Linked DNA regions of Homo sapiens: regions 2, 3 and 4 are each linked to region 1. The links are contacts of gene promoters, found by promoter capture Hi-C in human tissues and cell types (Jung and others, 2019). All regions are on one chromosome and are shown on one strand. Each heading gives the region's core, a stretch centred on a gene start or on the middle of the fragment in contact. The rest is flanking DNA. Distances are from core to core; before and after follow the strand shown.

Evidence for each region. Contacts are between HindIII fragments. The study calls those that stand out against the background at their distance.
Region 2: a fragment that was not itself captured here is called in contact with the fragment with the promoter of ARL16 in region 1 in 1 of the 25 tissues and cell types used here (dorsolateral prefrontal cortex).
Region 3: a contact is called between the fragment with the promoter of ASPSCR1 here and the fragment with the promoter of ARL16 in region 1, in 1 of the 25 tissues and cell types used here (dorsolateral prefrontal cortex).
Region 4: a contact is called between the fragment with the promoter of TMEM105 here and the fragment with the promoter of ARL16 in region 1, in 1 of the 25 tissues and cell types used here (aorta).

The regions. Positions count from the first base shown.
Region 1 is chr17:81,682,547-81,686,934 of GRCh38, reverse strand. It overlaps ARL16 (ARF like GTPase 16), which reads left to right and starts at 3,138. Exons shown (of 5, transcript NM_001040025.3): 1 at 3,138-3,242; 2 at 3,341-3,399; 3 at 3,809-3,922. The coding sequence starts at 3,182. It overlaps HGS (hepatocyte growth factor-regulated tyrosine kinase substrate), which reads right to left and starts at 2,924. Exons shown (of 22, transcript NM_004712.5): 1 at 2,832-2,924; 2 at 1,246-1,330; 3 at 548-623. The coding sequence starts at 2,868. RefSeq lists silencers at 2,694-2,793, 3,004-3,063, 3,274-3,353 and enhancers at 2,942-3,236, 3,454-3,673. The HindIII fragment of the contact is 7,981 bases long and covers 856-4,388 here.
Region 2 is chr17:81,266,992-81,271,806 of GRCh38, reverse strand. SLC38A10 (solute carrier family 38 member 10) reads left to right here. Exons shown (of 16, transcript NM_001037984.3): 10 at 783-889. Among named protein-coding and RNA genes, the nearest start is that of SLC38A10, 26 kb to the left of the region's middle. The HindIII fragment of the contact is 5,517 bases long and covers 1-4,414 here.
Region 3 is chr17:81,973,906-81,978,878 of GRCh38, reverse strand. ASPSCR1 (ASPSCR1 tether for SLC2A4, UBX domain containing) reads right to left here and starts at 1,250. Exons shown (of 16, transcript NM_024083.4): 1 at 1,131-1,250. The coding sequence starts at 1,232. It overlaps LOC105371939 (a long non-coding RNA gene), which reads left to right and starts at 1,394. Exons shown (of 2, transcript XR_933953.4): 1 at 1,394-1,511; 2 at 1,922-2,911. LOC124904087 (a long non-coding RNA gene) reads right to left here. Exons shown (of 2, transcript XR_007065951.1): 2 at 2,544-2,768. RefSeq lists a silencer at 755-1,614 and enhancers at 1,093-1,864, 1,865-2,638. The HindIII fragment of the contact is 10,548 bases long and covers 1-4,829 here.
Region 4 is chr17:81,327,439-81,331,987 of GRCh38, reverse strand. It overlaps TMEM105 (TMEM105 long non-coding RNA), which reads left to right and starts at 1,314. Exons shown (of 3, transcript NR_165247.1): 1 at 1,314-1,844. RefSeq lists enhancers at 1-117, 118-688, 1,832-2,401, 2,402-2,973, 2,974-3,545. The HindIII fragment of the contact is 14,660 bases long and covers 1-4,549 here.

The DNA of each region.
Region 1 (4,388 bases), core at 1,889-4,388:
ACCCACCTCCCTGTGGGACAGCAGAGCCCTTCGACAGGCCCGTCAGTGGCCGGTGGGGAACCCGGTGGGACAGCAGAGCCCTTCGACAGGCCCGTCAGTGGCCGGAGGGGAACCCGGTGGGACAGCAGAGCCCTTCGACAGGCCCGTCAGTGGCCGGTGGGGAACCCGGTGGGACAGCAGCCCTTCAACAGGCCCGTCAGGCCAGTGGGGAACCCACATCTGAGACTCAGCAGCCTGCACAGCACCGCTCCGTGACGCCAAGTCTCACTGCCAAGCACAGCAATGACATCCGCCTTCTGGTGTTTACTCACGCAGGACCGGCTGAAGAAGTGGTGCCCACTCCCTCCCCTATCTCCTGTCTCTCCCTCAGCGTGACCCTCTCCTAGGTGGCACTGTTCACACAGGCACTCAAGGCTGAGTGGAAACTCTCCTGCTTGATGTATGCCCAGGGAGGTGGGCAAGGCCACAGGACAAACTCTTCTCATGCTGTCGTGACTAGTAGGGGGTAGGGACCCTGGGGGCCACTGAGGCACGGGGGTCTGCTTACCTCCAGGGCATACAAGGCGACGTGTGGGTTCTTGTCGTTGACTTTCTTCTTGATGGAATTCACAGCATATTTTGCTCTGAAAAGGAAACATTGATAAAAGCAGAGAAAAACGGGAAAAAAATAGTCTCAGCAACTAAGATGAGAAAAGCTCATCTGCTGCCAGGTGCAGTGGCTCACGCCTGTAATCCCAGTGCTTTGGGAGGCCAAGGCAGGAGGATTGCTTGAGCCCAGGAGTCTGAGACCAGCCTGTGCATTACGGCAAAAACCCATCTCTACCAAAATACAAAAAATCAGCCGGGCGTGATGGTGAATGCCTGTAGTCCCAGCTACTCAGGAGGTTGAGGTGGGACGATCGTTTGAGCTTGGGAGGCAGGGGCTGCAGTGAGCTGAGATCACGCCACTGCACTTCAGCCTGGGTGACAAAGCAAGGCCCCGTCTTAAAAAAAAAAGTCTGTCTGCCATCTTAGTCTTTGAGAACCCCGAAGCAAATACAAACATAACCAGGTATCTGCAAGCTGTACAGAGAAAACCCCTTAATCCTCCAAGATGTCAAAAAATCCTAGCATGTAGCCCATGCAGTTCTCCACATAAGAGCCTAACACGGTCAGCTACGTCGTGGAGACCCAACGGGCACCAAGCGAGCCCAGCTTAGTGCACGGCTGCTCCTCCGCATCAGGGCACAGGCCCCGCTAACTCACTGTGTGTCCCCTTGGCGGATCAGGTCGCAGATCTGCAAAATGGACTCCCAATCTGTCTCCAACAGGAGCTGGCTGGTCGCCTTGTCTGAGAGAGAAAATGCCATGAAAGGGAGGGGTTATCCTGCTGGACGCCCCGTGCAGCACCCCAGCTTGGCAGCAGCTGGGGGGGACTCTCTCCTTCCCCTTTAGACATTTGGACCAAATGAAAAAGCATGACAGAATCCTCCTGAGCGTGCTGATGGGCAGGGAAGTGCCATCCTCCCCAGGGAAGCAGCAAACAGCGTAAGAGCACACCAGGTGCTGGTCCAAGCCCTCCCACAACCCGCGAGCGAGGTAAAGACACTCAGCAGAGAGGCGAGGGCACTGCCGTGAGTCACACAGCTCACCAGAGACAGAGGCTGATTCACTCTTAAACATCAGGCTCGGCTGCTTCTCAACAAAGAACCCTATCACCCGTCCCTTGGAGTCCCCGTTCGCCCAGATGCTCCCGGTTTCAATGGGACCTTAGCTTGGGCAAGGGCTAGAGAGGCCTGCAGTGTAGACTCCAGGCCCCTTGCTCCAAGCCAAGTGCTTTGGAAATAAGGGCAGAACGGGGCTCCAAGGAGGACTCGCCAGCATACCTGTCATCATACCACATCACTGCTGTCTCCAACAACTGGCCCCTCTGGGGGGGCAGCTCCAGCTCTGCCCACATCGCCTTTCCCGGATACAGAAACGATCTAACAAGCCAAGCCACGTCCACTTTCTATACTGATTCAGTAGTTAACCTCTGGATTCATCCCTGAAGCACTGAACTACCTGTGTGGCTGAGATACTCAGTCTGCTTGCTGGTTCCCTTGGCAAGGAAGGTGTCTCACTTGAAGTCTCCTTGAAAACCCTACTTGACAAAAAGGCAAGCTTGGGCAGCCCATTCGACCACCCAAGCTCCTACCCCCAAACATTAGACGCATTTTCCACGTGCTGCTGGGCACGTGCACATCAACATTCGTTTCCCTCCCAAAACGCGTCAATTCCAGGAGGCTCAGATAGGATCAGCTTTCACCTCCAAAAACGTGAGAAAACGCCTTCCTAAACCATTAGGCACTTCCCGAAGCCAGTGTGGGAACAAAAGGTGGGTCTGGGACCCGCAGCCCCCAAGAGAGCTCGAAGGTCCCAGAGAGAACACTGCCGGCTCCACCCTTCGAGGCCCAGTGTTTTGGGTCAGAAGCCCAAGTGCGAGCCTAACATCCGACTGAGTCACCCACTTTCATGACTCAGGCCTTGTGGCCCACTCGGCCGGGTGCTCGTCGGTCAAGAGGAAATCGGCCGAATGCCCGGGCCCGCGGAGGAGCGAGGTCGCCGAGCGCCCCTGGCGCCCTGCGCGGACCCTCGCAGAGCCCCATTTGCCAACGCCCGACGGACGCCGACCCCACGGCCGCGCCGAGGGTCCAGGATCGGCGGCTCCGAACCCGGGAGGACAGCGGGCCGGGGAGAGGCGGGCAGGGCGGCCGGTCCGCGCCCCTCGGGCCCTCGGGGCCGCGCTGACTCAGCGCCGGGCGGAGGCTGCGGGCTGACCAAGGCCGAGCCGTCGGGTGGGGACGCGTTACCTAGGAGACGCTCGAAGGTGCCGCTGCCTCGCCCCATGGCGACCTCCAGCCCAAACCCGACGCCGCGGGCGCTCCCCTGCTACGAGCTGGCGCGCCCCCCGACTTCCGCTTCCGCCTTTTCCCTCCAGTGCGCGCACGCGCACGTCACCGCGCCGGCCCTAGAGCCGCGAGGAGGCGGGGTCTTCCGCTCTCCCGCTAACGCTGCGCGCTAATTGGACGCGCCCTTGGAACAATGAGCCCTAAGAACCAATGAGAAGTCCGAAGGTGAGAACTATCCAATGAGAGTGGCCGGTGGGCGGGCCTTGAGCCGCGGCGCCGAGCTACGGGTGCCGGGTGGAGCGAAGCACGGAATGTGTCTCCTGCTGGGGGCCACGGGCGTCGGGAAGACGCTGCTGGTGAAACGGCTGCAGGATATCCTTCCGCGCGGGGACGGGACCGGGGCGCGGGGGGCACCCGGAGTGGGGCGGGGACTCACCCTTTAGCTGCTCGGGTCCTTGACCGCTTCGCACAGGTGAGCTCCCGGGATGGGAAAGGCGACCTGGGGGAGCCGCCCCCGACACGGCCCACGGTAGGTGTCCGCCCCCGCGGGTGGAGTTGCGGGGGGTCAGTTCTGCGCTTGGCGAAGAGCTCCGGGCTCCTCTAAGTGCACGCCGAGGCGCAGCGGGTCAGGTCGTGACTTAAGGCCAGCCTTCGGGAGCGGGGGACGGCCCGAGCTGAGGATAATTGGCGCGGGATGAGGGGGCCTGCCGCCCTCCACGGGCACTTCCTCTCCCCTCGCAACGGCTTCCTGTGGCTGGTCGCCCCCACAGCGAGTCCAGCTACTGATGGGCGTCGGTCCCTGCTCGCCGTTCCTGCGTTAGGGAGAATGGGTCTGCGGGGTTCAGGCCACCGTGTAAGGTGTGGGCACGGTGCTCTTCAGGAGTTCACAACGGGACAGCGGTTGTATTGTTCTTTTTGCATCGTGGTTTTTCCTATAGGTGGGCACCAATCTTACTGACATCGTGGCACAGAGAAAGATCACCATCCGGGAGCTTGGGGGGTGCATGGGCCCCATCTGGTCCAGTTACTATGGAAACTGCCGTTCTCTCCTGGTGGGTTGTAATCCTATATGGGCTTCCTTTAGGGAAGTGTGTCTACATTTCTGTGACGTCCAGTCCCCAACCTTGCTGTGTGTAGAAAGGGGTTTGGGTTATTTAGTGACTATACTACTCATGGAAATAGGTCTTAGCTAGTGTTGCTTCCTGCTGGGCACCCTGTCTGGTTTCTGGTGCTTGCGCTCCCAGGCCCCCGGTAGGAGCTCACAGAGGGCTTGCTGAGGGCAGGGCTGCTGCTCCGCAGAGAACAGACTTGGCCCTCTGTGTCACTCCCCGGTACGTCTGTGTTTATGTTGGACTTATACGTACCTCTGGTTGGTCTCATCTTGATAAGGCCTGTGCCGCGGATACCAGTATGGAGAACTGATGGCCACATGAGGACAGAGACGAGTGACACCAGGTCGTCTTCATAAAACTCGATTCCCTCTGCTTCTGCTTGTTCCCAAAGCTTTGTTTAAAGCTA
Region 2 (4,815 bases), core at 407-2,906, 410 kb after region 1:
TGCAGTGAGCTGAGATCGCTCCACTACACTCCAGCCAAAAAAAAAAAAAAAAAAAAAATCTGTCAGCTTGATGGAACAGCAGGCACCCATTGACACCTGGGCAGAGAGAGACTGCAGTGCCGGGACACAGGCTCAATTTGTAGAACCAACTATTCTAGAACAGCGCATGCTGTCCTGTTGATTCTTTTGACTTCTGATTTTGGTGATGCATTACCAAGGGAAGCGTTGAAGGCTCTGAACATATTTATGTTACCCAAATGCACCCACTCCCTAGCAGACAAGACAGAGCTCGTTGTCATCAGAGGATGACATCACAGGGGAACTCGCACGCACTCTCCCCAGGGAACAGCCCTAGAGGCGATCTGTCTGGGCTCCTGGCAGGGGCTGCAGCCTGGCAGCACCCGCCAGGCCCTGGCCTCTACACCTGCCCTAGGATAGGTCCTGCCTTCCTAGGGCCACTCATGGAGCAGCAGGCAGGAGAGGCGGCGCAGGAGCCGTGCCGTGCGCAGCCAGCATCTGGTTTCGGCAGGAGGTCCCTAGTGTCTGACTCTTTAAAGATGAACCATCAGAGAATTCACCCCGGGGCCTAAATGCACTGTTGGAGGAATCAGCCGCGGTTGTCAGGCTTTCTGGGCACAGAGGGCGTCTCTGCTCCCGGCTCACGCCTAGACGGCATTTCCTTCAATGCTGGCTTGCTCACCCGTGTGCAGGGCAAAAGCTCAGGTCCCCTCCTTCCCAGAGCCCTTCCCCACTCATCCCTTCCTGTCACTTCTCCATCCTAGTGGAGACCATCCTGGGCCTCACAGGAGCGACCATGGGAAGCCTCATCTGCTTCATCTGCCCGGCGCTGATCTACAAGAAAATCCACAAGAACGCACTTTCCTCCCAGGTGCGTGCTGCTCGTGGGGTGGCCTGGACGAGGGCTGATGGGTCTGGGCTGGGGAGAGGTGGAGGCGGGAGGAAGCCCCTGGTTCAGCGTTTTCAGATGGGTTCTATCAAGAAACTTAAAACCCACAAAAGGGACTTGGTCCAGTCAGCCTGGGGAACCCTGGGTTCACCAGGACGCACGGTCTTTGCCCAGCAGGGCCACACTAAGCTGCTCAAGCTGTGCATCGGGTTTTCCTGAGAGCCGACTTAGCTGAGTCGTAAGCGCTTTCCCCATGGTGTTTCTGCGATGCCTGATTGCCCATGGACCTGCTGCCACCTCTGAGTCCCCTCCCCAGCCGCCCACCCCTGAGGCCACCACCCACCGTTGTTCCTGGTGCGACCCTCCCACGGAGATGTGCGTGCTTGTGGGTTTTTCTTTAACTGTAACACAGCTTCCTGCTGCTTTTGCTCAAAACCCTGTGCAGGTCAGGTTGCTCCACAGCCGTGGGCACAGAGCTGCCTCGCTATTTTTAGCCGTTTCATGGGTTCCGTGGTAGGAAGATTCCATAATCCCAGTCTCCGAAGGACTCACCTCTCCAGTCTTGCTATTGCAGACAGAATCGCGATGAATATCTGTGTTCATGAGCATGTCGACGTATTTGAGCACGCGTCTGTAGGAAGCCTTCTAGAAATGGAATCCTGTGTCAGGGGTGTGAGCATCTGTAAATGTGGTGGCTCTACCCAAAGTGCCTGCAGCGTCACTCCCAGCCAGGCTCAAGGCCTCTGTCCCTGCACCCAGGACCTTCCAGGCTTCATCATTCTTGGCCTCTCTGGCGGGAACTTGAGTGTCTTTTCATGGGTTTAGAAGCCACTTGCGTTTCTTTTTCTGTGAACTGCTTGTGTTCTTTGCTCACTTTTTATGGAGTTGTTGAGCTTTTTCTTACTGGAATATATTGATAATTTTTTTTTTCTTTTGAGACAGAGTTTCACTCTTGTTGCCCAAGCTGGGGTGCAGTGGCGCAGTCTCGGCTTACTGCAACCTCCGCCTCCCAGGTTCAAGTGATTCTCCTGCCTCAGCCTCCTGAGTAGCCACCACGCCGGGCTAATTTTGTATTTTTAGTGAGACGGGGTTTCTCCGTGTTGGTCACGCTGGTCTTGAACTCTTGACCTCAGGTGATCCACCCGCCTCCACCTCCCAAAGTGCTGTGATTACAGGTGTGAGCCAATGCGCCCGGCCTCAACCTGATAAGTTTTTACAAAGTGAACCACGTGGAACCACCATCCAGAGCAGACATAGGACATCCCGGCACCCCAGAGCTCCCTATGGATGCCTCACTGACATCCACCCCCACCCCAAAGGTCCTCCGGCATTCTGGAATGATCTTGCCTTGTCTTCAAGTTGCGGTAAATAGATTCTTACAGTGTACATTAGAATACACGTCCACGTGTGTCAGCCACTTCTTCAGCATCTTGGCTCAGGTCCACTGCAACTTCTGCCTCCTGGGTTCAAGCAATTCTCCTGCCTCAGCCTCCTGAGTAGCTGGGATTCCAGGTGTGTGCCACCACACCCAGCTAATTTTTGTACTTTTAGTAGAGACAGGGTTTTACCATGTTGGTCAGGCTGGTCTCAAATCCTGACCTCAAATAATCCACCCGCCTCAGCCTCCCAAAGTGCTGGGATTATAGACGTGAGCCACTACACCCAGCCCCTTATGGATTTTTTAATCATCTTGTTTATGAGTTGTGAGAAAGGTATGATAATTCCTACTGTAACTGCAGATTTGTTTATTTTTCCTTTTAGTTCCATCACTTTTTGCTTTTTAGTTTGAAGCCATGTTATTAGGAGCAGACAGATTGAAGTTGGTTATATCTCCTTGTTGAATTGTCTTTTATCGTGTTAAATACTCCTTTTTATCATTGGAAATACTTTTCTCCTTAAAGTTGGCTTTGTAGCTAACTTAGTTCTGCTTTGGGTTTGTATTTGCACAGGATAGCTTGTTTCATCCCTTTTCTTTTGATTTCTCTAGTCCATTATATTCATGGTATGTCTCTTATAACAGCATGCAGTTGACTTTTGTCTTGTTCTTATTCAGTCTGTGAATGGGAGTATTTAAGACTATTTACAGTTAATATAATAACTGATTTTTGAGGGAAAACTTTCAACTTATGTCCTATTATTTGTCTCATATGTCCTTTTTCTGTTTTTGCTTTTACTTTCTTTGGATCAATCAAACATTTTAAATATTTACTCTTTTTTTGGCTTGTTGGTACATTTCTATTCTTCTAATGATTATACTAGGCAGTTGATATCAACCCTTATTTAAAACTCCACAAGACATTGTTATTGTTGTTTCAAATAGTAATTATTGAGCCAGGCATGGTGGCTCACTCCTGTAATCCCAGCACTTTGGGAGGCTGAGGCAGGAGAATCACTTGAACCCGGGAGGTGGAGGTTGCAGTGAGCCGAGATAGCACCACTGCACTCCAGCCTGGGCAACAGAGCAAAAGACTCCGTCTCAAAAAAAAAAGAAAAAAAAGAAGAAGAAAAAGAAAAAAGTATTGATATTGATTCTTTGTGGCTTCTTGTTTTTTTGTCCTGGGGTCTTGTTTTCTAGTGTGCCTGGTATTTTGCAGATGTTGTGTTTGAGAAATCGTAGAAGTTCTGGGTGACATTGTCATTCATCCATCATACAGGGGATAGGCAGAAGGCCTGTGTCCCATTGAGGCAAATGTGTTTTCAGTTGGCCTTGTTCCTAGGGTACAGCCCTTCTGGGGTCTCAGCTGGGCAGTGACACCCTCAAATGGTGAATCTTCTGCTTGGCGTTCATCTTCTGCTTGGCGTTCATCATCTTGCTGGCTCCTCTCTGCATAGCTGATAGCTGGCAAGTGCTTTGGGGGAGATTTTTGCACACAGAATGTGGAGTGGCGTCCTTCTCCGAGGTTTCCTTCTCTCCCTCGAGCTCTGGCTGCTGGAGCGCCCTCATTCTTGCTTCTCGGTGCCCAGCCCTGTGAGTGTGCCCAGGCTCTAGGCTGTTGTGCTCTCTTGTCTTGTCTGCTTAGTCCCAATGATCGATGAGTCTCCAAGGGCAACAGGCTTGACCTCTCTGTGACTAAGGGCTTTTCTCTGTCCTCTGGGATCTGGACCTCTCAAGTCTGAGCTGACAGAGCTGTTTACCAGTGTCTTTGGTTGGGTGTTTTTATTGTTTTTATTCAGCTTTTACCATTGTTTTAAATAGGAAGACCAGTTTGATACCAGCTATTATGCCATAGCTTGATGAGGAAGTTTCTTGGTGAGTTTTAGGAGCTTAAGATAGCATGAGAGCCTCAGCCTCTGCTCATCAGATGGCACATGTCCTGCTATGCCAGGTCCCATGTTTTAGTCCATTGGGCTTCCTTAGAAAAAACATCTGTTCTGTGAGTTAGCAGGAGAAAGAAGGAAAGAAAGAAGGGAGGGAGGGAGGAAGGAAGGAAGGAAAGAAAGAGTCATAGTTAGAATTTCCACACTCCAGTACTATTTTAAAAGAAGAAGGAGGGGGAGGGCCATAGTTAGAATTTCCCCACTCCAGTATTATTTTAAAATAATTCCTCCCTCATTTTTTTAGTACTTTAATGACTTCATTTTTTTAATTTAAATCTTTGATCTACCTGTATTTTATTTTGGTGTAAGAAACAAAGTATGTATCCTCAGTTTATTTCTAGATGGTTCCCTAGTCGTCAGACATGATTTATTGAATAATCCATCACTGATGGGAAATGTTAGTGCTATTGTAGATTAAATTCTTATATGTATTCGGGCCTAACTTGGGACCTGTGTTTTACTTTATTGGCTGGTCTGCCCTTCCGTACTGTGTTAGTTGCATGTTAGTTGCATGTTAGTTGCGTGTTAGTTGCCACACCCTGGTAACACTCACGGAGTTGTGACTTGTTGCTCTTGGAACACTTTAATTC
Region 3 (4,973 bases), core at 1-2,500, 290 kb before region 1:
CCCTGTAGTTCTGCAACCTGCCTTAAACTTGCCTAGCACAAGCTACCCCCTGGCTCTGGCACGGTTCTGTGCACCTGCTGCCACTGCCTGCACCGCCTCCGCCCCTCTTCTCCATAAAAAGCCAAAGCCGTGGCCTTGCACCAAGGGGTCCCGCGCAGCCTCTGCGGGAGCGCCCCACTTCCGCACTCTGCACGCCTGGCACCAACAGCCTCCTGGCTGCGCCCTCCACCTGCCCAGGCCTGGGGACCCCACGCCGTGGGCTGCTCCCGCAAACTCCGAGTCGTGTGCACCTTCGGATCCTCACGGTCCCCCACGCAGCAGAGGCTCAATAAATACTTTTTTTTTTTTTTTTTGATATGGAGTCTCGCTCTGTCTCCCAGGCTGGAGTGCAGTAGCGCGATCTCGGCTCACTGCAAGCTCTGCCTCCCAGGTTCACGCCATTCTCCTGCCTCAGCCTCCCGAGTAGCTGGGACTACAGGCGCCCGCCACCACGCCCGGCTAAATTTTTTTGTATTTTTTTAGTACAGACGGGGTTTCACCGTTTTAGCCAGGATGGTCTTGATCTCTTGACCTCGTGATCCACCCGCCTCGGCATCCCACAGTGCTGGGATTTACAGGCGTGAGCCACCGCGCCCAGCCAATACTTTTACATTTAATTGATTCGCGGTCACAAGGTGCCCAAGTAAAAGTGCAGTGAGTGACTCGGCAAAAATCGCTTCCAGGCCCCACGGCCGGGACATCTGCCACCGCGCAACCCGGGCTCCCGCTCCGGGGGACGCCCCGGAATGGGAACGCGGGTCTAGGGCTCCACTCCTCCCTCTTCCCGGCGCCCTCGCGAGCTGGGCTCGGCCGGGCGCCGAGTACTCGATGCGGGTGACACGCGGCGCCGTTCTACCTCACCCCTGGGAAGGCTCGCCACCGCCCCGCCCCCACTCGGGACCCCCGGGACCCCCGGGACCCCAGCGGAAGCGCAGGTGACGGCGAGCAGGGGGCGGGGCCGCCGCTCAGGAGGCCGCTCATTGGCCGCCGAGGCCCCGCCCCCGAACACCGGGACGCCGACCGCAATGGGCGGGGCCTCGGCGCAGCGCCCCCCGCCCGCCTACCCGTCCGCCCCGGGCGGGCGGCCGCACCTGAAGCAGCACGGTGCTCGGCGTCACCTTCACCGTGTGGCGCCGGCCGTTCGGGGCCAGCACCGACACCGCGGAGCCTCCGCCGCCTGCCGGGGCCGCCATTTTCCGCTCACGTGACCCGCCGCCGGGCCGGCGTCAAACAACTTTATCGGCAACAGCCAGGACGCGCAGCCACGCGGCCAGGGGGCGGGGCCGCAGCGCACTTCCGGGTCCTGCCAGGCCCCGCCCTTTCCCCACCCACGGCGCCCCGGCCCCGCCCTTGGGCCGCCAAAGCCCGCGCCAGACCCGGAAAGCGCGGTCGTCCTCTGCCTCCGGGAAGCGCGGCTTGGATGGGCTCGCCGGGGCCAGGCTGGGCCGGGGCTGGGCGCGCGGTCACCCCCGGTGAGCGGCACTGAGCCCCGGGGTCCCAGCGGTCCGCGCTCGCCCACCCTCGCTTCGTCCCTGACACGTCCCCAGCTCGGTGCCCTGCTCTCCCCCGACCCTCCCGGCTTCCTCCACTCCAGCAGCTGAGCCTCTTCCCTGCCCACCTGTCCCTGTGGTCAGCGTCCACCTCCTGACCTTATGGTTTGGGGCAGTCCCCCCGCCCCTGTACGGATCCTCCCTGGGTGTTGGGACTCGTGGCCCTCAGTCTAGACCTGATTTCTTTCATCCTAAAATGGGAGTGCAGAATCTGGCAGCCCTAGGGCTGCCGCGACGGTCCCTAAACCTGAGGGTAGGAAAGGCGGGAGACCGGTTTCAGAACCGTGGGGTGAGCGAACTTGAGTCTCACCGGAGCTCCTGCCGACCCACAGGCACTCAAGGACTTCCCGCACCAACCCATGCTGAGGAGGGGCTTGGTGGCAGCCTCAGGAAACACTCCCATCGCCAGCCACCGCAGCAGGGAAAGCACCTGGCCTCACCAGCTCCAGGCTTCCAGAAGGAGCTGCCCTCCTGACTCGCAGCCGTCGAATGTGCTTAGCTCCCAGCACCTGGGCCACTCATGGACAGCACTCGCACGTGTTCCGCCCCGCCCCCCACCTCCATGGCTCAGCCGGGCCTTGGCACTCCTCTCTCCATGTGCCTGCCTGTCTCTGCGGACTCCTGGCTAGGGCTCAGCTGCCCAGTAGCCTGTGGAAGGGGGAACTGGTGCAGTTATCAGTCAATCCTCCCACAGGGCTGGGATTACACACGTGAGCCACCGCACCCGGCAGTCATTGCTGAGTCTAAGGACATCTCTGCATGGGTGCTGTTGTGCCTTCCTGTCGATGACATATCCATGTCACCCACACACACCTGTATGCTGACAAACACGGACATCTATGTACATTGGAGAAACCTGGGGAAAGCCCCAGGCTAGCCATAGCCCTCCCATCCAGCCAGCCAGTCCCATGCTCTGTGCAACCTCAGAACCTTACTGAGCCACACATCACCTGGTGGGTTTTAATTCTTTAGTGGCGTTTTTGAAGAGTCTGTTCCTATTTTCCTTAGACTGTCCCACAGTCTGGATCCTTGGTTAAACGTTTGGGGCAATGATGAAGGGAGGTGACAAGTCAGCAGGAGGTGCAGGACATCAGCGTGGCCATGAGTGAGGACGTGAAGTTGAACCACTTGGTCAGCTTTGGGTCTGCTGAATTCCTCCATGGTCAAGGTCCGTGGCTCCTTGTGGAGTAATTAAGGCATGCGTGAGGTCATTCTCTGAGACCACAAGCATCAAGTTTTCCCAATAACCATTTGCCCAACAGTTTTAGCATCAGTTAATGAGTAGATTCAGTGTTAAACCGTAAAGCTGCAAAATCATGGCTTCCCAAGTTTATTGTTTCTTCTACATTTATAGTCACTTTCGGTCAAGCTTCCCCTTCTTTAAAAAGTTATTAAATATTTGGGAGGCTGAGGCAGGAGAATGGCGTGAATCCGGGAGGCAGAGCTCGCAGTGAGCTGAGATCACGCCACTGTACTCCAGCCTGGGAGACGGAGCAAGACTCTGTCTCAAAAAAAAAAAAAAAAAAAAAATTAAATATGGCCAGGCGCGGTGGCTCACGCCTGTAATCCCAGCACTTTGGGAGGCTGAGTTGGGCAGATCACAAGGTCAAGAGATTGAGACCATCTTGGCCAACATGGTGAAATCCTGTCTCTACTTAAAAAAAAAGTACAAAAATTAGCCGGGCATGGCGGTGCGTGCCTGTAATCCCAGCTATTCGGGACACTGAGGTAGGAGAATCACTTGAACCTGGGAGATGGAGGTTGCAACGAGCCAAGATCGCACCATTGCACTCCAGCCTGGGCGACAAGAGTGAAACCCCATCTTGAAATATATATATTTATTAATATGAATTCATGTATTTTTTTCATTCAGTCAGCATTCTTTTTGATGCTCAAATTGGTCCGAATTTGGCCAGTGAGACCTCCTTTAAGCTGGCTCCTATGCTTTTTTTGATAGGAGGGATGATCTTTTATCCTGATATTATTTCAAACTTAGCCGAGCAAGGTGGCTCACACCTGTAGTCTTAGCTACTCCGGTGGCCGAGGCAGGAGAATTACTTAAGTTCCAGCCTTAGTGAACCACTATTCATGCCTATGAATAACTACTGCACCCCAGCCCGAGCAACGTAGTACGATACCGTCTCAAAAAAGGAGAAGGAGAAGAAAGAAGAAGAGGGAGGAGGAAGGAAGAAAGAGAAGAAAAGTTTGCAAAAGCAAGAATTCCTGCTGTATATCTTTTTTTTTTTTTTTTTTTTTTGGAGATGGAGTCTCCCTCTGTCGCCAGGCTGGAGTGCAGTGGCGAAATCTCAGCTCACTGCAACCTCTGCCTCCCGGGTTCAAGCGATTCTTCTGCCTCAGCCTCCCGAGTAGCTGGGACTACAGGTGTGCAGCACCACACCCAGCTAGTTGTTGTTTTGTTTTGTTTTGTTTTTTGAGACGGAGTCTCGCTCTGTTGCCCAGGCTGGAGTGCAGTGGTGCAATCTCGGCTCACTGCAAGCTCCGCCTCCCGGGTTCACATCATTCTCCTGCCTCAGCCTCCCGAGTAGCTGGGACTACAGGCACCTGCCACCATGCCCGGCTAATTTTTTGTATTTTTAGTAGACATGGGGTTTCACCATGTTAGCCAGGATGGTCTCAATCTCCTGACCTCGTGATCCACCCGCCTCAGCCTCCCAAAGTGCTGGGATTACAGGTGTGAGCCACCACGCCCAGCCTCCTGTATATCTTTTAGCCAGATAAATCAGTGTTTACATGTCACCCCATTTGTTTTATCATATTCTCTTTCTCTCTCTCCATATACATGTAAAAACTTTTTCTGGCCAGGCACAGTGGCTTACACCTATAATCCCAGCACTTTGGGAGGCCAAAGTAGGAGGATCATTTGAGCCTAGGAGTTTGAGACCACCCTAGGCAACATAGTGAGACCCCAGCTCTACAAAAAATACAAAGGTTAGCTAGGCATGGTGGCATGTCCCTGTAGTCCCAGCGATTTGAGAGATTGAGGCAGGAGGATCACTTGAGCCCAGGAGGTCGAGGCTGCAGTAAAGACATTGAGCACCTTCGCCACTAAATACTTCAGTTTTTCTCTTTCCTAAGAATAAGGCCAGTCTCAACCAGGTGCAGTGGCTCACGCCTGTAATCCCAGCATTTTGGGAGACCAAGGCGGGTGGATCACCTGAGGTCAGGAGTTCAAAACCAGCCTGGCCAACATGGTGAAACCCTATCTCTACAAAAAATACAAAAAGTAGCTGGGCGTGATGGCAGGTGCCTGTAATTCCAGCTACTTGGGAGGCTGAGGTGGGAGAATTGCTTGATTGTGGGAGGTGGAGGTTACAGTGAGCCAAGATCACGCCATTGCACTCCAGCCTTGGCGACAGAGTGAGA
Region 4 (4,549 bases), core at 65-2,564, 350 kb after region 1:
CACAGACTTTCACATCTACTGCAGAGGCGCAAGGACGTTCCCCAGCATCAAAGCCCTCAGACCCTGGTGCCAGCCACGTCGTCACAGAACTTGTAGACCAGAGGATGCCCTGCGGATAGAGGGCCTGCCCTGGGCCTGCGCCAGGCTGGGCATATTGCTGAGGTCCCTGCTCTGTGCTGGCAAAATCCAGACCTCAGGAGAGGGGCAGGCAGGCTCTGAGAGGTTGCGGCTGCCCAGGGCCTGCAGCTGGGAGGAGCGGAGACAGACCCCCCCTCCCCTGGGACACAGTTGCTCTGCACCACACAGCTCCGCTCCTGGCGTCCCCTGGCTTTGCCGGGGGCGGCCGACCCAGCTGGCCAGGCCCCCTCCCCCTGCCCCACAGGTGGCCCTGAGCTGCTGAGGATAAGGCATGCTGGGCGATCTCTGCTGATTAGAGTCGCCCTCCGCTGTGGGCTAGGGGCCCCTATTTTGCTCCTGAGATCCCAGTCGGCCCATAGAAGCCCTCACAGGCTCTCCCGGGGGTCCAAGGAGTCCCAGGAGGCCCCCGTTCACCCCGGGTTTGCCTTCTCCCTCCTGTAATTTGCTTTTCATATGCGTGAAGGGGAACTCAGCAGGAGCAGAAGATGATGTGGCCTCGTGGGAGCGTGGGAGAGCTGGGACGGGGTGGTGGGGAGGAGCGGGGACCCAGGGACAGGGGCTCTGGGTCCAACCACCAGGCCTTTTGCACTTCGTGCTCTCTGTAGCCTCAGCTTCCCCCGAGGGTCAGGAACTCCAGGCAGGGGCATGGGGCAGCTCAGAAACCTTCCTGAGCCCCTTCCCCTGGCAAGAGGCAAACCAAGCAGGTGAGGGCTGGGCCCTGTTCTCAGAGCTGGCATCCCAGCCCTGGCCAGATCCAGGCTGAGGGCGGCCCAGCCCCCTGTTCTGCCTGGTGCAGAGGACACGGCTTCCCTGGCCGGAGCCCCCGCCCCCTCCTCTCCTTTCTTGGCGTCTGCCCCTGGGCGTGCCCTACCATTAAGCCCTTGTTGGTTCCACAAGCTGGGGGCACCCCTTCCTCCCTTCCTCCGGGCAGCCATTGGCAATGGCTGGCGGCTCGGGACAGGGCCCGTATTCTCTGAAAATGATGGCTGGGCTGGAACCCGGGATCGATTCTCAGACCTGCGTCATGTGGAGTCCCGGATGCTTGTTACGAATTCGGACCCTGGCCTGTGCCTGCTCCCTGGTACCTCTGAACAGGGCTTTCTGCCCTGGGGGTGTGAAGAGGGCCAAGTCCACTCCCCGACTGGGGTCACGCCTGCCTCCTGTCAGGACTGTGAACACTGCGTCCCCATCAGCTCAAAGAATACGCATGGGGACAAGCCTGGGGGGCCGTCTGAGAGTCCCCCAACCCTGGATCCCCACGGCAGCCCCCACTGTTGGGTTTTTCAGTGGCTGGTGTGCCCTGGGCTGGTCACCTCTGCATTTTGCTCTGCTGGGAGTTTGCTCCTGGCCCTCCAACAGCGCCTCCTCTGTGAGGAGGAACTCCTGTTCCCGTGGCTCTGCTGGCTCTGGAGGCTGGAGTTCCCGTGCTGGGCCCTCCTGGGCGGGTTCTCTCTTGCTGCCGCCAGTACCCTGCCCCTCTCGTCCTCCTGGGTAGCCTGGGAGGAATGGCAGAAGAAAGCAGTGAAGCCAGGTAGCAGTAGCCCGGCCACCCCACCAGGCTCTGCTGTAGGCTGGGCTCTCAAGGCAGCTGCTCCAGGAGGGGCCCCCTAGGAAGGGACTGCCACACTCCTGGGAGCGTTCCTGGCCCCCTCCAGTGCAAATGACCCTGGGCCCCAAGGCTCCGAACACCCGCCCCTCTGCTCCAGGTAAGAGGGAGATGTGGGTGGTGCCTGGACTGTTGTGTGCTTAGGTGGGGGAGTGGAGCCTTCAGGTCTCAGGAACCCACAAATGCTTGTTGAGCTGATGAACCCTGCAGAGATGAGAAGCTTAGGCCCAGAGAGCTGATGCCACCTGCCTGGGGCCACAAAGTCCACTGGGCAGAGGAGGGTGGGAACCCCAGTCCTTGGCCCCACTGTCAAAGCGGGTGCTTCCCAGGGAGAGCAGAGCCTGGGGTCAGTGCGGAGGACACTGGATCCCCAGTTCCGGGCTGGGGAGAGGCAGCTGGTGTTTCAGTGCTGCAGAGAGGGCCAGGCCGGCCTCAGACACCCTCCCCGAGGCCTGTGTGGGGGTGGAGGGCGGCCACACCTGTCCCACTGCAGGCCCTGGGGTGGGGTTTCCTGTCTGTGCTGGAGCCCGGTCAGGTTTCTCACTTCGCCCGGGGCAGGGGTGCAGGGCAGATGGCCCAGCCAGTCATGAGTCACCAGCCCAGCCTGCCGGCCTGCCTGACAAACGGGAAAGACCCGGCGGGTAGGAGCTGGGCTGGGAGCATCCTAGCTGGGCCTGGGCCAGCCCCTTCCTGGGAGAGGAGGGAAGCTGCCTCAGGCCTCCGGGGAGAAGCTCCCACCTGGCCCGGACCCTCCTCCCTCCTCCCTCCTCTGGCGGGGTGAGTGGGCTGAGGGCCTGCTGGGCCCCTGCATGGTGGGAAAGTTTGGGGAGGGGAGGGGTTTCCAAGCCTCAGCCGTCCAGGCCTACGCATCCCAGATCTCGCTCGCTCCACAGCGCTGTGCCATGTCATGGGCTTCTTTTTTCCTGGTCCGAAGTGTTAGTATCTGCGAAATTGCAGGCTTGATGTGTTGGCTTTATTTTTCTAACACACACTAAAATAAATCATGCGTGTTTTACAGTGTGTTGGGGCCATCTGTGGGTCACGGACGGCCCTTCTGGCCTGGGGGCTGGCCAGCTCTTTCTGTAGGGTCCAAAGAGAGCTTGAGTCCCCAGCTGGGGTAACCCAGGCAGGGATTTTCCCGACATGTAGCCCCAGAGCAGGGAGGCTGTGGCTTTGAGGAGAGGCGGAGTCCTCAGCCCAGCCTTCCTCAGGCCTCCAGAAGCAGCCTCGCCAGGCAGCCTGGGTCTGCCACCCTGCAGACAGTGTGCAGGGCAAGGGAAAAAGGACAGGCCTCTCTCCAGCCCCACACCTGCCCACGCCTCTCCTGGAATTGCCCCCATCAGAGCCCCTTGGGGGCTCATTTTCAAGTCCCCTGCCCCTACTCCGGGGACCCGGGTAGCCCTGGGCTAGCCTCTCCTCCCTGGGCCCCGCCGTCCTCATACACACCTTGTCCTTAAGCTGCCTTGGCTCCCAGGGGTGCTCAGTGTGGCCATGGCCGACAGCCCTGGACTCTTACAAATCAAGGGGGAGACACGCGAGGCCCCGCCCCCACCCTGGGCCCGGAGCCAGGTGTCCCTCAGGAAAGGGCTGCTGCAGGTCTGCAGGAAAGTGCAGAGGGTGCCCTGCGGGAGAGACGCCCACACTGCTGCCCAGCACGGGCTGCTGAGAGCCTGCGAACTCAGGCTCTGGGGCACACAGAATGCCCCCACCCCCTGCCTGTCCACCTCTTGCCCAGTCCCTCTTGCGGGCACTGTGTCCTCCCTATGGGGCTGTGAGCCCTGCCCTTGCCAGCCCTGCTCCTGCCCTGGAGACCCTGGGGGTGATTCAGGGGAGAAGATGCATGGGGTGAAGGGCGAGGCTCCCGGGCGGGTGAGGGTGGGCTGGGATCAGCCCCACTGCGAAATGGACCCCGGGGCTGATGCACCTGTCTTCCCCAGGCAAGCCTGTGGCGAGTGGGGGCTGGCTCAGTTGAACCCTCACTGCATACCAGGGCTGGGCCTCAGCTGCCACCATGATCGCAACTAGCTCTGAGAGGTAGAGGCTGCTCCGTCCCCAGATAAAGATGAGGAAACTGAGGCGCAGAGTGAGGAGGCCTCCTGCTCAGATCCTGCAGCTGGGGAGGAGCAGAACTGAGGCCCTCCAGGCAGCCCCGGCTGCTTCGGTCTGCCTGCCAGGCTGTGTCCAGGCCATGTGGTCTTAGAGGCCACCCCTCTCACCTGAGCCGTTCTTGGGTGTTCCTCACCCAACAGCCCCCCTACCCCGGCCCAGGAATAGATACAAAAATCTTTCTTTTCCCTCAAAGGTTAAAATCTGGATTGAAAAAGCAAGTGGGGTTTGTTGGCCTCTCAAAAAGTGGAGCATAGGCCGGGTGCGGTGGCTCACGCCTGTAACGCCAGCACTTTGGGAGGTCAAGGTGGGCGGATCACCTGAGGTCAGAAGTTTGAGACCAGCCTGGCCAACATGGTGAAACCCCATCTCCACTAAAAAGACAAAAGTTAGCCAGGCGTGGTGGTGAACACCTGTAATCCCAGCTACTTGGGAGGCTGAGGCAGGAGAATCGCTTGAACCCGGGAGGTGGAGGTTGCAGGGAGCCAAGATCGCACCACTGCACTCCAGCCTGGGTGAGAGAGCAAGACTCTGTCTCAAGAAAAGAAGAAAAGAAAAAAGAAAAGAAAAGAAAAGAAAAAAAGCAGAGCACAGGATTCCCACGTGACTCAACGATGCCACTCCGGCTACAGACCCCAGAGAACTGAAGGCAGCAGCTGGTGCAGACGAGAGCGCCAGAGTCCACAGCAGCCCTGGTCA